Regions from separate parts of the Homo sapiens genome. Here region 2 is linked to region 1. Evidence: promoter capture Hi-C in human tissues and cell types (Jung and others, 2019). All regions are on one chromosome and are shown on one strand. The core of a region is centred on a gene start or on the middle of the fragment in contact, and the rest is flanking DNA. Distances in the headings are between cores, read along the strand shown.

Region 1 (3,996 bases), core at 995-3,494:
ACTCCCTTTTTGCTTGACACACCTGCCTCTCCCCAATCAAGTAAACATGATTTCTCCTTCTTTCAACCCCAATAGGGTGCTGCTTGGTTCATGTTTTGCCTTTAGTTTTGTGTCTGTTTTTGTCTTTTCCTCATTGTTAGATTTCAGTCCAGCTTGCTTTACATGTGGGGCACTATATTTTGTAGTGTAGAGCTGACATATAGTAGATACTCAATACTCAGTTTGATAAAACTCCTTGGCTTTTTTACCCTTCTCCCTTTCATATTTTAGAACAAAGCTCATAGACCCCTTAGTTGACACTATATTTGCTATAACACAGCCATTAAATTTTCTAGAATTCTTTTTTATTTGTTTTATTCAAATGGCTTCTCATGATTGGGCTTTCCTCTTGCTTGCTCTATCTGCCCACTTTGGAAATTGCTTTGTCAGCTCCACCGACTTTCTAAGCTGGGCCCAATCCCTAAATGGCCACAAGTATAAGGTCGCCTTTGGAGTTGAATAGTCTGAAGAGACATCAGTGCAAATCAAGGGCATAGGCATTGGAATCAGATTATCTTGTCTGGAATTATGCAGTCAAGGCTGTGTGACGTTGAGCACATTACCAAACCTCTCTGGGCTTTTTTTTAACCCAACTGTAAGGTAAAAATAATACCTACCTTATTGTTTGTTCGCTGCCTTGCAAGCCTTTCAAGGAGGTGAGACAGGGATGAAGCCCTTTCTCAGACTCAACATTTTAGTCATCTGCCCTCTAATCCTTTCCTTTTGCTTATTTGTCAAACTTGTACCTCCTTTAGGTGAGGACAAATACTTATATGTTGGCCATTTTATCCTCTCTACTCTATGACTTAGTGTAAAAAATCTCTCTCTCTTAGTCCTTACAATCATGAGACAATGAACTCCATTCTCATGACCATGTTTTAATGGGAGGAGGGTGGTAGAAGGAGGACACTTGCTTCCCTTTTGTGAGGTTTTTAAATTATATATTTATTATAACCTGTTCAAGAGTGGGTGAGAACAGTGTGGATTTTAAAAGGAACATTTCTGTGTCAGCAAAATGTCCCTGTGTTTGGGAGAGACTTTTGGAGGATTTCCAGGGGAAGCAAAGTAGTATTTACTGACAGTCCAAATGCAGTTTGGGCCTCTAACCTCTGGCCTCTCTCAATTTGTTTTGCAGTAAAAAGTCAGAGTACACAGCAAGGGTTCCAAATTAAGAGGAAGCAAAACGCTGCCCAGATCCTGAGAAACCTGGAGAAAATCAACCTTAGTAGTTTCAACTCATACATTGTCTTGTTTGATTTTGTTCTTTGTTTTTTATCCTCTTTAAGCACAGATGCGTGTTGAAGTCTAAGGTGTTCTGTCATCACACTCTCTTTACTAGAATAAGTGTGCCCAGGCAGAAAAAAAAGTGTATTCAATGTTGCTGGCATGTGTGGATTCACAGCTCGTGGCTGTAAGGAAATCTGGGGGTTTCATAAATCCATTAAAATCCTTTTAGAGTTGCCAACCCGCAGTAGGATTTTCTTTCTTTTTTTGTTCTTTTTTTCCCCTTCCAAGTGAGGCACATAAAGGATTCTACCTAGTCCATGAATGAACAGTTTCATAGAAACATTAAAACCCTAACATAACATGAATTATTCACAAAGTTGCATGAAACAATAATATTTAGGTTATCCAAATTATAAGAAGCCTGAAGGTTACCACCAAACTATTAAATTTTTCTAGGCATTAATTACATAACTAAACAAATGTATTTCTTAAAATTCTCTCTTCCTCTACATACACACAGTAACATCAAAAACAACAAGAGCAACTAAACCTCAATGAGTAGCTACAATGCAGAAAGAGTCCATTTCAATTCAAAGAAAAATATTTTCTCCTAAAAAATATGAGAAAACATTCTGTAGGTTCAAATGAATTTAGCCTTGGCTGAGATCACGAGCCACAAAAGTAAGTGGATATGTGACTATAATTATACAATGTTGGAAAATGGTGAGAGGACTTTAAAATATGCATTTCCTGGCCAGATTGTATCAGAAAACTGAACTAACTAGACAATAACACCTTACAAATTTTGAAGTCCAAAATTTTCAACTAAATTCCAGGAATTCAAAGAAAGACTTTTTTCCTTACCTGTCCCTTTGAGAAAGGAGCTCCAATAATCCCTATGGTTCTGGACTTGGCGCTCATGCTCTGACACTTCTCTTTGCTGCACTTGAGCTCTCCAGTCAGTCAACCCTCAGTGACAGAGGGCGCATCTTTTTTTTCCATTTATACTTGGGTTGAATAAACAACCTTTATCTAATGAGGACAGCTGGCTCCACCCACTAAACCAAAGAATGACAGTCAACAGTCTTGCAATTTTTCATACATGGAGTAACTATATGGTTACTCCATGTATGAAGTAACTATATGGGGTTACTTCATACATGGAGTAACCTAACTCTGAGTCTAGGTCTCTAATCAAGTGACAATTATTCATGTTCTCACTTCACACCCTTTTAAAAAGCCAGCCAGATGACATTAACCTGACTTCAACAACTGACAAGTTTCACAACTACAGAAGAAGTCCTATTGTTCTGGCTCAGCGAACTCAGGGCAAGGCCCTTTCCTCCTCCAGATCTCTGAAGACGTCCTTGTAGAAGAAGGGCCGGGCTTGGCAAGATCGTCTGTCACATCCCTTCCAGCCCTAAAATCCTGAGTTGAGATTTCACACATGAGGGTAAATGGTTAATCCATGAGACACATTTCATAAACTTTTAGGGTATAATATAATAAAGAGTATATAACTTCCTTTTTTGATGATTACTTTAAAAAATTAGTTACTTGATTGGTAACCCAGAGAGGTTACCATTTTTGAAGTATGGTGTACAGGAAAATAATTGTAGAATCATATCATAATCAAAGTATAGAAATAAAAATAGCTAACATTGAGTTTTTACCATGTGTCCGATGCAGTTCTGTTTCAAAATACCATATTTATATTTATACCAATTTTATGTGAAGTCTCATCATTGGTGCCATTATACTGATGAATAAACTGAAGCTCAGACCCGTTGCCAACATAGGCTGTAGAAGAAAAGTCGGGATTTAGTCTCTGCCATTCTGAATCCACTTAACCGTCGAGCTTATAGTCTAAATGCTGGGAAGGTGTCAACCTCTATGCCCCTGAGCTACCATTTGTCACCATACAAAAGTATGAATTTAAAATAAAGGCACCTTAAAGATCCTTCCGACTTTAAAATTATGTAATTGTAATTTAAAGGGAAAATTCACTTAGTAGAAACTAATTTCTTTTTCCTATTGGTGGGAAAGAACATTTTGGAATTTAAATTCCATGAGGTCAGAGAATTTTGTCTGCTGTATCCCCAGGGCCTAGAAGAGTGTTGGTGTATAATAGGCACTCAATAAATATTTATTGAATGGATAAATGAGGAAACCAAAGTCTCATGGGTCCATTTTGATAGGACTGTTTTCCAAATAGGTTTCCTACCTTTTTCTTGTGGGTTTGCTTGTATATCCTAAATATTTACTTGTGGTATTCCTCATATTGCCTAGATATTAACCTTATAGCATTGACATTGCAAATAACTTTTCCCAACCTGTCAGAAATCTGATAACTTTTTATATGTTATCACTCAAAATCCTCAATTTTAAAATAGACACTTGTATAATTTCCCCCGAATGCTTTGTGCTTTGGAAGTCTTATTAAATTCCTGCCACCCCATCAAATTGTAGGTATGTAGTTTTACATTTTCTTCCATTTGCCTTAGAGCTTATCTTTCTCACTTAGTTCCTGAATCCATCTTTGTATGTTATGTAAATTTTCCAACTCGTTTTTCCTCTATCATTCATGCATCAGTTTCCTCAACAACACCCATTGAATAGTCATTCATTTTGCAATTGATTGGAGTGCTGTCTGTCACTAAACTCTTTCTTCTGTTCCATTGACTTATTTACCTATGGCTGCACCAGATCCATCAGGTTTTATCAATACAG
Region 2 (3,989 bases), core at 1,453-3,952, 330 kb after region 1:
AGAAGGGAACTTGCTGCCGTGAGCAAAAAAGGCTCCACCTCCAGTCCTCCAGCCTAATGCAACTGCTCTGGGACTGGCATTCAGTGAAGGAAGTGGCTATACGCTCCCGTATTCTCACAAAACTGTGAGTCCCTGGCCATAGGTCAGTGCCATGTGTTCTGTCTGGCTATTTGCATATGTCTTTAAGAAAGGTAGTCGAGAAAAACCACAATGAGCCCTTTCTCCTACAGACAACTGCAGTAATTACACATGAAAATTCAAACCCCCAAAAAAACCATATTTTCTGTCTGCTACTTAAAGAGGAAGAGCCTTCTTTTATCCCTAGGAGATTGTGGTTTATGAATAGAAAACCCAACATAGCAGAACACTGGAATCACAACTTGTATGAAGTACCATTAACTACCTAGCAAACTGCATGAACAATAGAAATGATAGGCTAAGTGTGGGGAAAGAGGCTATCGACTGTTATCTGTACGGTACGGCATATCTTTTAAATTCCTGCTTTCTGATATATTGCCTTATTCCCCTAGTAAAGCAGTAATCAATAATATTAATTTTGAAATTATACCATCAAATATGTCAACAGCCTAGAAAATTACCCAAATATAGATGCATCACTGACAAAAAGACAAAAGATTAGGGCATCTTTCTGAATGAAGCCACAAGGTGATTGAGCAAATTCAGGGGCAGCAAAACAACTAATTTTAAGAAAGGCTATATTTTGAACTCTATTACATGAAATAACAGATTTCATGTAATTGTTCAAAATCTGTTATCTTATAGAGGGAATAGCCTTAGTTTATGACACTCTAGGAAAGAAAAATTGTTCATAGTGCCAGAAATTCCACCCTGATTCTTTCTTACTCCTCTATTTACTAGCTAGGCACACCTATTTCCCATGGATTAGAAGGAGAGGGAACAGGATGATGCTGAACACCTCAAGTGGTTCTGAACATAGTCCACCTACTTTCATGATCATCCAAACAAAAAGAGCCTGCAGCATGGAAAAATGAAAATTGTCAATTTTACAAATTATATTTGTCGCATTAAAAAAAACAGTGAAGATGCTGGCAAACACTAGTATCTGTTTTCAATGCTTTTTTTCTGAAAGATAGAATTTTGATAATTTTGATGCAAATATCAAAGAGTATTTGAGAGTGTTATCAAGGAACACAGTTGTTTTTATATGTCACAGGTACATTAATATGCACTTTGACTTCCACATTAGAAATATTGTGAAGATCTATGGAATAAAAAGCAAAGATCTGACTGATTAAACTGGCAGGTCTATCCACATAATTAAAATTAATGTTTAGAGAATTACATGTCTTTAAATTGCTTTCACTTTTTCAGACTATTTAAAATGTAAAGATGCTTATTTTACCTTGGTTTAAAGAGGACACTCCATTCTATCATACAATGAACATTATAATTTTAAGTAAAATTCCACTTTTATAACCAGTTGGGTTTCTTCACAGCTTAGTGACTTATAAATAAACAGCAACTTTAAACTCTTCCAGTATTCCCCCAAATTCACCAATACATGAGTGAATACAGGTGTATGTTTTAAAATATAAAATGATTTTGTATATAAATGTAAAATAGTCCTAAAAGCAATAATATAAACCTTATTAAGACCAGAAAGCAAATAAATGGCCTGTAACCCTAAAAATGGAAACATCAGAACCTACAGCAAATTTTGAACACTGGAGACGTGACACAGAATGTGGTTCTTCCCAGCCTTAACACTGCCACTACCCAGCTAGGAAACACCAGAGAAGCCCTTGGTCCTCTCTGGACCTCAGTTTCTTCACCCAAAAATAAGGCAGTAGGCATATTAGGATCCTCTACAGTACTAGCATTATATGATTTTGTGATCAAAATAACAAAGGAAATAGCCTAACAACCAGTGAACAATTATCCTAAACATTACTTTTTGTGTTCAGTGAAGATGTATTTGCAGGGAACGTTCTTCACTGAGGAAAATTAGTAACTCCTGGCATTTCCCAATCACCAGCATCAGTATAGTGATAAAACCTTTAGAGTCAGGAAACCATGGGTTTAAATCCCAGATGTCAGGTATTAACAGTTATGAAACTCATGCCTCCTGGTCAGAGTTTTGATATCTTTATCTGTAATTCAGGTAAGTTCATTATAAAGCTTTTAATTTGCATTGCAAAATAGTATTTGATGGGGAGGGGAAGAAGAGAACAGATTGTCTGATGGCTGTATTTATATGCACCTCAGTCTTTCTAGCACCAGGTAGTAATCTTGCCTCCTGCTCTTCCAATTTTGTGCCCTACTAGCTGCCATCTTGAGTTAATGCTTATATATCTGGCCTCCAAACAAAAAGGCCCTCTACTCAAACTCAGAGCCCAGGAGGATAATGTTCGTGCAATAAATCCTACCAACTTAACTTTATTATTAACCATTCCCTGTTGGCACTGCTTCTGAAAATGTGCAATTAAGAATAGGGACAGGCACCATGGCTCATGCCTATAATGCCAGCACTTTGGGGGGCCAAGGTGAGAGAATCACTTCAGGCCAAGACTGCGAGACCAGCCTGGGTAACACAGTGAGACCCCATCTCTACAAAAAAATTTTAAAAATTAGCTGGGCATAGTGGCACATGCCTTAGTCCTAGCTACTCAGGAGGCTGAAGCAGGAGGATTGCTTGAGCCCAGGAGTTCAAGGTTATAGTGAGCTATGATCATACCACTGTACTCCAGCCTGAGTGCAGGAGTGACCGAGTGAGACCCTGTCTCTATAAAAGAAATAAAATATGGCCAGGCGCGGTGGCTCATGCCTGTAATCCCAGCACTTCAGGAGGCCAAGGTGGGTGGATCACGAGATCAGGAGTTCAAGACCAGCCTAACATAGTGAAACCCCGCCTCTATTAAAAATACAAAAATTAACCAGGCATGGTGGTGCACGCCTGTAGTCCCAGCTACTCGGGAGGCTGAGGCAGAAGAATCACTTGAGCCTGGGAGGTGGAGGTTGCAGTGAGCTGAGATCATGCCACTGCACTCCAGCCTGGGTGACAGAGAGAGACTCCATCTCGGAAAAAAAAAAAAAAAGAAAAAAAAAACATATATATATATATATATATATATATATATATATATATATATATACATATGAAATGTGTCATTAACTATCAAGATATTCTGCATGAATGAAGGGGAGCTAGATAATGTTAGAGGCTTTTTCATAAGCATTAAGTGAATTAACCATAATGAAAGATAGAAAACAATGGAGAAATTCAAGATAAGAATTCTAAAACCTAACATTTACTGGACACATAACACCAGGCACTTGAGTTTACTCATTCATTTAATCTCTAAGACAGCTCTCTGAAGATGGTGGTATTACTATCCCCATTTTACAGGTGAAAAACGTAAGCTCAGCAAAGTAACTTGGGTGAAATCTTTTGGAGAGTATTGACAATAAGGGGATCTGAACTCAATCTGTCTGGCTCTACAAACCCTAAGCATTTGATCCAGAGTTCTGTATTATTAAACACAATTTGTGTGTAGACTCAGCTATATACAATATGAAACAGCATACCACAATTTCAAAATATTATGCAGAAAAATGTTATTTAACCAAGCTCTATCAAAATCTTGCCTTGGTTCCTCATGTTTTGCCATCAAATCCCTTTACTAATGCTGCTAGAGTAATATAATCCTATTTCAAAACAAAGGACCTAAAGATAGACCCTTTTTGGGGCTGGAGCCTAGCACTGTTGCCTGCCACATCTTGGAAAAACGACTCAATTAAGAGCACAGAAATAGCAGAATGGCCCCTGAACACATTCATCTTCCAGGAAAAATAGCAACTTGGACCATTCACAAACATAATCCCTGACAATATTCATGACCTTTTATTAGGGAATTAACACTCTTCTCAGTAGCATATGGAGGTCTACTGTAAGATTTAAAAAAGAAGGTTAACCTTGATGAGGAAAAATATCTGATATGATACTATGT

What was found. The method cuts DNA at HindIII sites, captures the fragments that hold promoters and counts their contacts. A contact is called where the count stands out against the background at its distance.
Region 2: a fragment that was not itself captured here is called in contact with the fragment with the promoter of ARG1 in region 1 in 4 of the 25 tissues and cell types used here (H1 embryonic stem cells, dorsolateral prefrontal cortex, hippocampus and 1 more).

Annotation. Positions count from the first base shown.
Region 1 is chr6:131,571,474-131,575,469 of GRCh38, reverse strand. It overlaps ARG1 (arginase 1), which reads right to left and starts at 2,244. Exons shown (of 8, transcript NM_000045.4): 1 at 2,131-2,244. The coding sequence starts at 2,187. It also overlaps a transcript of MED23 not described here. RefSeq lists an enhancer at 2,277-2,778. The HindIII fragment of the contact is 11,485 bases long and covers 1-3,996 here.
Region 2 is chr6:131,246,415-131,250,403 of GRCh38, reverse strand. The region is part of intron 7 of AKAP7 (A-kinase anchoring protein 7); the gene reads right to left. Among named protein-coding and RNA genes, the nearest start is that of AKAP7, 110 kb to the right of the region's middle. The HindIII fragment of the contact is 9,498 bases long and covers 1-3,989 here.